Regions from separate parts of the Homo sapiens genome. Here region 2 is linked to region 1. The links are contacts of gene promoters, found by promoter capture Hi-C in blood cells and fetal thymus (Javierre and others, 2016). All regions are on one chromosome and are shown on one strand. The core of a region is centred on a gene start or on the middle of the fragment in contact, and the rest is flanking DNA. Distances in the headings are between cores, read along the strand shown.

Region 1 (4,049 bases), core at 1,218-3,717:
GAATGGCGTGAACCTGGGAGGTGGAGTTTGCAGTGAGCTGAGATCACGCCACTGCACTCCAGCCTGGGTGACAGAGTGAGACTCCATCTCAAAAAAAAAAAAAAAATTCTGCAACCACCTTCCCCTCCTCATACACAAATACTAACATATATCCACCACTGCTAAAGGAGCAGCCATCCTGCAGATAACGAGAGAGAAAGGGTGGGATGATCCTGTTCTCATTTAATGAGTTCTAGGGAAAAGCTAGAACCTCTAGTAAGCCCAACTGGAAGTCCTATCTCCTTGTCCAGAGAGGGTAAAGAAAGCCAGGAAGAATGACCCAGGCCATCCTGAGAATCTATTCATCCAGTCCTGTCCTATAGAGATGATCATCTCCACTTACAAGCAACCTTGCTCTGGGAGAAGGCAGGGGATGAGTTCTCCTCTCCTCTAGTCACTTTCTGTTACTGTTGGCCAGGGATCCCAAATGATAGCTCACCATGTTCTCCTGCAGTTATCCAGGATTCCAGAGACCCAAGAGCAAGAAGTGCCTTCAGAAGAAAGAGGCAGCTTAACATCATGATGATGCTGAGAGTTGGGACAAGAGCTCAGTTCAGGCTAGAGGTGTACACCTTGCCCAGAGTATCAGCTGAGGTATGAGCAGGACTAGGGATGGCCCCAAACCCAGTCCCAAAACCTTCCCTTTCACAATACTCCCCAAGAATATCTTCTCCTGACAAGAAGAAGAGGGATTGGCTGCTGGAGTGTGGGAAAATTCCTGGCACTACCAAAGGGGACCTGTGATGGGAGGATCAAATTCTGTAAGCAATATACACAATATTCCTGGATGATGAGAAACCTAGTGGGTGGCTGGAAAAATGGAGGGGTGGCCATTGGAAAAAGAATCAAAGAGAGCCCTAAAGGGCATTGGAAGGACATGGCTTTAGCCCAAATAACAGAGGGAGGGATTCACGACACTACTTAATGGCCAAAGCTAATAACATAACCAAGCATAATAAAATTGTGGCTCCTGTTCATCCTAGCAACCAAGAAAATACAGAATGGAACAGACCACTCAGAAACTATCAAATAGGCCAAGGCGGGCAGATCACCTGAGGTCAGGAGTTTGAGACCAGCCTGGCCAACATGGCGAAACCCTGTCTCTACTAAAAATACAAAAATCAGCTGGGCATGCTGGTGCATGCCTGTAATCCCAGCTACGTGGGAGGCTGAGGCAGGAGAATAGCTTGAACCCAGGAGGCAGAGGTTGCAGTGAGTGGAGATCATGCCACTGCACTCCAGCTTGGGTAACAGAGTGAGACTCTGTCTCAAAAAAAAAAAAAAGAGAGAAAAGAAACTATCAAAAACCTACAGAAAAGCAGTAGTTGAGTTTGTTAAGAACTAATGAAAAGCACCAAACACCTACATCTTTGTCCCTCTAACCCACACAGGCCATTCTTGGACTGTATGAAGTCTAGCTGGCAGAACCCAAGAGAAGTTGCTATGTATGACTCAAATAGTCTGCCCACATATACCTCCTTTATTTCTTTTTTCTCCATTTCTTTTTTTCTTTATCTGTCCTGGTCATGCCTTTGGTTAGCTGTGATACCTAATGGTGTCCACTGGCACTGCTTAGTCCTATGGGCAGGTACAAGGTAAAACCTCCTTAATAGGATCAAAAAGTTTGGAGCCAGGAAGTCGCCCTTATGGTTAGAAGGCTGATGTTGGCTCATGGAGATAATTAACATTTGATGATGACCTCATATGTGCCTAATATGCTTTTTTTTTTTTTTTTTTTTTTTTTTTTGAGACAGAGTCTCCCTCTGTCCCCCAGGCTGGAATGCAGTGGCGCGATCTCGGCATAATTAACATTTGATGATGACCTAACATGTGCCTAATGTGCTTTTTTTTTTTTTTTTTTTGAGACAGTCTCCCTCTGTCGCCCAGGCTGGAGTGCAGTGGCGTGATCTCGGCTCACTGCAACCTCCGCCTCCTGGGTTCAAGAGACTCTCCTGCCTCAGCCTCCCGAGTAGCTGGGATTACAGGTGCCCACCACCACGCCCGGCTAATTTTTATATTTTTAGTAGAGACGGGGTTTCGCCATGTTGGCCAGGCTGGTCTCGAACTCCTGATGGCAAGTGATCCTCCCGCCTCGGCCTCCCAAAGTGCTGGGATTACAGGCGTGAGCCACCGCCCCTGGCCGAGCATATTAAAATCTAGTTTTCAAAAACTGAACTGCAGGCGCCGCTGTACCAAACGCTTCCCTCTGCTCCCCAACCCCAGCCTACAGAAAACTGGTCCCTTCCTCCTACCCCGCAGTCATCCCCAGGCCTTGGCCCAGCGGGAAACATCCCTTGACTGAACCGCCACTGAACACCCACACTGCACAATCGAGGCGCAGCCCTCCCGAGAGGAAGCCCCAACGACCTCCACCTACAAGGCCTCTAAGTGTAACTGTCCTGGGCGAGGCGCGGCGGTTCGGTTCCCATGGTAACCCCGCAGCTCCAGCGTCGCGCTTCCGGGCGGACGAGCAGCGCGCTCCAGTGACGTCACGGCGCCACTTTCCGGCCGGTGACAGAGTCCAGCGGAGTTGTGGGGGCCGGGGGCGCCATGGGAGCCACTGGCGACGCCGAGCAGCCGCGGGGACCTAGCGGGGCCGAGAGGGGCGGCTTGGAGCTGGGGGATGCGGGCGCAGCGGGGCAGCTGGTTCTTACGGTGAGGGCGCCCCCGGTGAGGTCTGGGCTCAGGCCGGGCACGGCCTCGGGGCTCCTGGGACCCTGGCCCGCGGGCGAGAGAACGCGGAGGCTGGAGCTGCAGAGGGGGTTGGCGTTTTCGCAGCCCGACGACCTGGATTTAAATTCTGGTGCCGCCCTCCTAGCTAGGTGACGTGGGCCATCTCTGTCAACCCCCTGAGTCCCAGGATCCTCTTCTATAAAATGGAAATGATTAGTACCTGTCTCATAAAACTTGTTGTGGGATGGGAAGATAAAGGCGGGTACAACGCCCCGGACATCACCTGACACAGAGTTGACCCTCGGTAAATACTGCTTCCCTTCCTCCTGCCGTGCCAGAAGGCAGGGTCGGGACTTTTAAGGCAGGAAACTTCCTCAGTTCCTCTTTTGTGGAGGAGGCCTTACAACTATCGTCCCACCCCAAGGCGGGAGAGATGGTGACGGATCTGAGAAGCAGGGATGTCCAGGTTTAACTTCATACCCACCCTCCACCTCCACCCCACCCCAGTGTCACAGGCCGCAGTGACATTTGTTCCGTTGGTCCCCACAGAACCCTTGGAACATAATGATAAAGCACCGGCAGGTGCAGCGGAGGGGCCGCCGCTCACAGATGACAACAAGGTAAGGCTGGCCCTGCATGGGGCTTATATCCCAGCCACTGGCTTGCATGGCAGATTTGGGATCCCCAGTGCACAAGGCTATGGAGATCTACAGCCGGTAGAAAGAGCACAGGACTGAGGAAGAGGAGACTCCGATTCTGTAACTCTGTGTGATCTTGAACTAGTCAAGTCACTTCCTTCTCTGAACTCACGTACAAAATGGGGAAGGGCACAGGAGATGGGTTGTGGAATAAACAATACCTAAGATCCCTCACATTCACTGGCTCTGTGGTTGAGGGCTCTAAAGAGGTCAGTTAGCATGGAGTTTAAGAGAACAGGCTCTGGAGTCAGACAACTGTGTTCTCATCAACAGACTCTGATGAGCCCGTTTTCTCAACTATAAAGAGGGATTAATAGTATGCATGTCAGGGAAGGGAGAGAGCACAAGGTGGGCCTTTGGGATGCTGATAGTGGTGAAATGGATGTTCACTATAATTACTCATTAAAGTGTATAGACTTTTCTGTATAAGTATTATATTTCATAAAAACACTTTGGGCCGGGCGCGGTGGCTCACGCCTGTAATCCCAGCACTTTGGGAGGCTGAGGTGGGTGGATCACCTGAGGTCGGGACTTCCAGAACAGCCTGACCAACATGGAGAAACCCCGTCTCTACTAAAAATAACAAAAAATTGGCCGGGCGCGGTGGCTCACGCCTGTAATCCCAGCACTTTGGGAGTC
Region 2 (3,857 bases), core at 406-2,905, 180 kb before region 1:
GTCCACATTTTCTTATCATATGAACCCAAACTTTGACCCACTAAGGAGCCTTTATTTGTCTTTTCCATTTTTCATGTTCTAAAAGACTCTTCCCCTCCAACTAAATTAACGTGTTAAATATTACCCTTTTGGCATTCATCAAAGGCTCACCCAACTGAGGCACAAAGGTTCTGAAAATATGGGCTTGGAGGGAAGCTCTGTGTTGGTTTTTCCTCTACTGGTCTGATATTGGAAAATATTATTTCCTGCTAGCTGATGGAATATAGACAAAAGATACGTTCCCTTTTCACATACCTAGTGTTGCTTTCAGAGCTGAAAGAGAAAACTTAAAGGAATTGGGAATATCTAACCTAATCTTGCTTGAATATCTCTACTTAAGGAGAGATCCTTTAAAGCCTGATTCTTGACATGCAGGCCCTGGATCAGCTACAATAGACATCCCAGGACTGGGCAGAGCACCCCGTCCCTTTTCACACCACCCACAGGGATCTTTGTTCCAGAAGCTTCCCAGCACAGGCAGAAGCATCACAACTCCAGAGATGAACATGACGAGTAGAAGAATCCAGGGCTTCATGGTGCTCTCTGTGTGTATTTGGGTTAAGTTCTGGCAGAAGGCAAGTCTTTTCCCAATACTGCTAGACGTAGAAAATGGATTGAGGAGAACAGGGTAAGCAACAGGGGTAAAGTGCTTATGACTATCATGTTATTCTTTCCCTTTCTAGTACCCAGTAGCATACCAACCAACTCCCAGGCTAGCCAGTGACTTCCCCAGGTTTCTTCTCATCTCATATTACATACCCCTTCCTTTGCAAAATTATTTCTTATTAAAATGAATTTCTCCTGTCTGATTAAAAACAATAAATCCTCAGATTATATAATATGTAAAATTAAAAATACAAAGAGGAAATAAACAAGCATTAGCAATTCCACCATCTAGAGATAATCAATATATGTCTATACTTTTATGTTGTAGTCATTATTTTTATGAAATTGGACACATCAAGTGTCCTGATATTTTATTTTGAAGCATATGAAACATGATGATGTAAAGAAGTTTTAGTGAAGATCCTAAGACAAAAGGCACTAAAGCAATTTAAGAGGGAATTACAGATAGATAACAGGACTTGAGAAAAGATGATGGCCAAGAACTGTTAGGGGACTCAAAACTTTAATGCACTAAGATGGTCCAAAGTTGGAGGAATTGTAGAGAAGATTTTGAAGGAAATTTTATTGGTAAAAAGCTTTGCTCGTGAAAGCCGGAATGCTGCCTCCTAATTCCAAGTTGAGAGAAAAGGTTTTATGAATACGACTCATTGAGCTTGCTATGTGATCCTAGAAGTCTATGGGAACACAGTAGACTTGAATCATGACTGAAGACTTTAAAGGGTGACTTTAAATCTGGCCAAAGCGGCCTGTAGTAGCAGAGAAGAGGGCTCTAATTTGTGAAGTATCTGAACTGCAAATGGCCAGACGACATTTCATGTTTCCAATGAACCCTTGAAATCTCCCACGAAAGAGTCAAGACCAGAAGCACAGAACCAGCTCATGATAGTATCTATTACACAAGAACTTTCCTACTACTCTTATTGGTCCGTCCTCCCTCTACTCCCTAGGAGACAGAAACTTGCTTTAGTCCAGAGTGGGTGGAGGAATAGAATTACAAAGAGCCAGAGTGGGGGTGGTGGGAGGCGGGGGAGAGAGATTCACCACATCCTGTTCCATAACTGGAGCTTCTGAGGGAGGGAGGAATCCATAGTTCTGAACAATTTATGTAGTTGTGACTAATTTCATGGGCCTGCACATTTTACTTATTATATTGAGAAGATGTTTCATGACTGGAGAATCACATAAAATTTGTGGAGACCTACCTAAATTTTCCTGAAGAAGCAAGGAAATAAACTAACAATTCTGAATGAAATATACAGGGGAGGCAAAAATATGCTCACATCATACAAGTCATGACAAGAATTCAGTCATACTTATTACTATCATTTCCTCATATCATCAAGACCTGAATAGTTTCAATTTCTTCTCGTTATAAAAATGTCCTGATGAACCTCCTTATAGTTAAAGCTTTGGTACATATATTGTTATTTTTATAGCATGAGTTAATGAAGAAAGATTTCTAGGCAAAAGACATTGTCTTTCCCAGGCTTTGGATAATTGCCGCCACATTTCTCTCACTAAGGGTTAGGTTACATTTCCACCTACCGGATATCAAATGCATGTCCCTCCACCCCTTGTTCTACTCTAGGCTATACAAAGGTAATTTTCATCACCACACTATTTGCTGATGGGTATTTTAAGAGGAAAGAACATGGGCCCCAGAGTCAGATAGGCTTGAATTAGAATCCCAACCCCACCAACTCCTAGCCGTGGAGCCTGGGCCAGCCACATAATCCCCAGAGCCTGGTTTTCCCCATCCATATTACAGAAAAAAATATCAATACTCATCTCATCTCATAGGGTCACTGGGAAGATTAAATAATATGTATGAAACACTAAGCATAGGACCTGGAATATAGTATATACTTCATAAATGTTAACTGTCAGCATTAAGCTCAGAATATCCTCCTCTGGATATTTGAAAACTATTTTCAATTACAATTTTTTTCTTTTTACTTTTTTTTTTACACTTAGCATTTTAATCTGTTTAGATTCTATGCCTCTGTGTGTGGAGGGAGACAGGGGGAGTTCATTCACTCAATAAGTACTTATTAAGTGCCTAACTATATTCCAAGTTCTGGGTATTGGAATATATTCCAAGTTCTGGGTATTGGAATATAGTGGTGAACAAAACAGACAAAAATCCTCCCATTTATACAGCTGGCATTCTAGTTAAACAAGATAAGGAAATGCATAGATGGTAATCAGTGGTAAGGAGAAAAATAAGGAAATGGAAGAAAATAAAATAGCCTTCAGCTGAGTGACAGCTGAGGGGTAAGGGAAACTAGAGTATGGGAACAGCAGAAAAATCTTAATAAAAAGGAATAGATAGACATTTTCTTAACACTGTAAAAATTTAACTATTGCAATCCAAAATCCAGCATTCCACATTATAAAACTGAAAGTACTCCCATTAAAATTAGAAATAGGAAAAAAAGATATGCACTATTAAGACTACTTTTTAACATTATTTTCAAGTGTTTAAGCCACTATAATTAGAAAAGAGAAAAATTTGAACTATAAATAATAGAAGAGTGGAAGAGGAACCTAATTACAATGGAAACTTCCCAGCCTTCTCCCATCTACCCCCCTCATTCTCTATTGCTCTACTTTTCTAGAACCAAATAGGAAGGAAAATAAGAGTCAAAGAAAAGGATAAAATTCTGACATGAATTGCATCATTGCATGAACAAGGCAGTGATTTTCCCTCTGCCTGAAAGTCTTTATATTTGTTCAGAAATTTTCAATGAAGCAAAAGAGATTTCTTTGTGCTGTCCAATGTGGTAGCCACTAGCCACTTATGACTGTTCAAACTCATTAAATTAAATCAAAATTCAGTTTCCAGTCATTTCAAGTATTCAATGGTCACATGTAGTTAGTGGCTATTGTCCCCAAAGTCTTTCTCTGATGCTTCTCATTCCATTTATACATAGGACGATGGGAATAGTCTACATCAACCTTTGACTTCTTGTGTGTCCTATTTAACATTCCTTATTTCTCAGGCGCGGAGCCTTTCCATCATCACAGAAAGTTCTACTGAACAATGCTGCTCTAGATGAATCCACCAAAATGACTCTGCTCAAAAGCAGAGGTAATACTAGAAAAATTTTAAAGCTGCCAAATTTTTCAGAGGAGACTTTGAAAATGTATTCTCCTCTTAGCTTCTGTGAAATTTGGAAGGTGAAAAATAC

What was found. Contacts are between HindIII fragments. The CHiCAGO score rates a contact against its expected background, and 5 or more counts as called.
Region 2: a fragment that was not itself captured here is called in contact with the fragment with the promoter of WFDC3 in region 1 in 2 of 17 cell types (M2 macrophages and M0 macrophages); the score reaches 6.5 in M2 macrophages.

What each region holds. Positions count from the first base shown.
Region 1 is chr20:45,789,416-45,793,464 of GRCh38, forward strand. It overlaps WFDC3 (WAP four-disulfide core domain 3), which reads right to left and starts at 2,468. Exons shown (of 7, transcript NM_080614.2): 1 at 2,417-2,468; 2 at 479-567. The coding sequence starts at 560. DNTTIP1 (deoxynucleotidyltransferase terminal interacting protein 1) reads left to right here and starts at 2,539. Exons shown (of 13, transcript NM_052951.3): 1 at 2,539-2,694; 2 at 3,262-3,332. The coding sequence starts at 2,590. RefSeq lists silencers at 2,622-2,891, 3,102-3,241. The HindIII fragment of the contact is 10,060 bases long and covers 1-4,049 here.
Region 2 is chr20:45,609,608-45,613,464 of GRCh38, forward strand. It overlaps WFDC9 (WAP four-disulfide core domain 9), which reads right to left. Exons shown (of 5, transcript NM_147198.4): 3 at 484-632. The coding sequence starts at 574. Among named protein-coding and RNA genes, the nearest start is that of WFDC10A, 18 kb to the right of the region's middle. The HindIII fragment of the contact is 832 bases long and covers 1,240-2,071 here.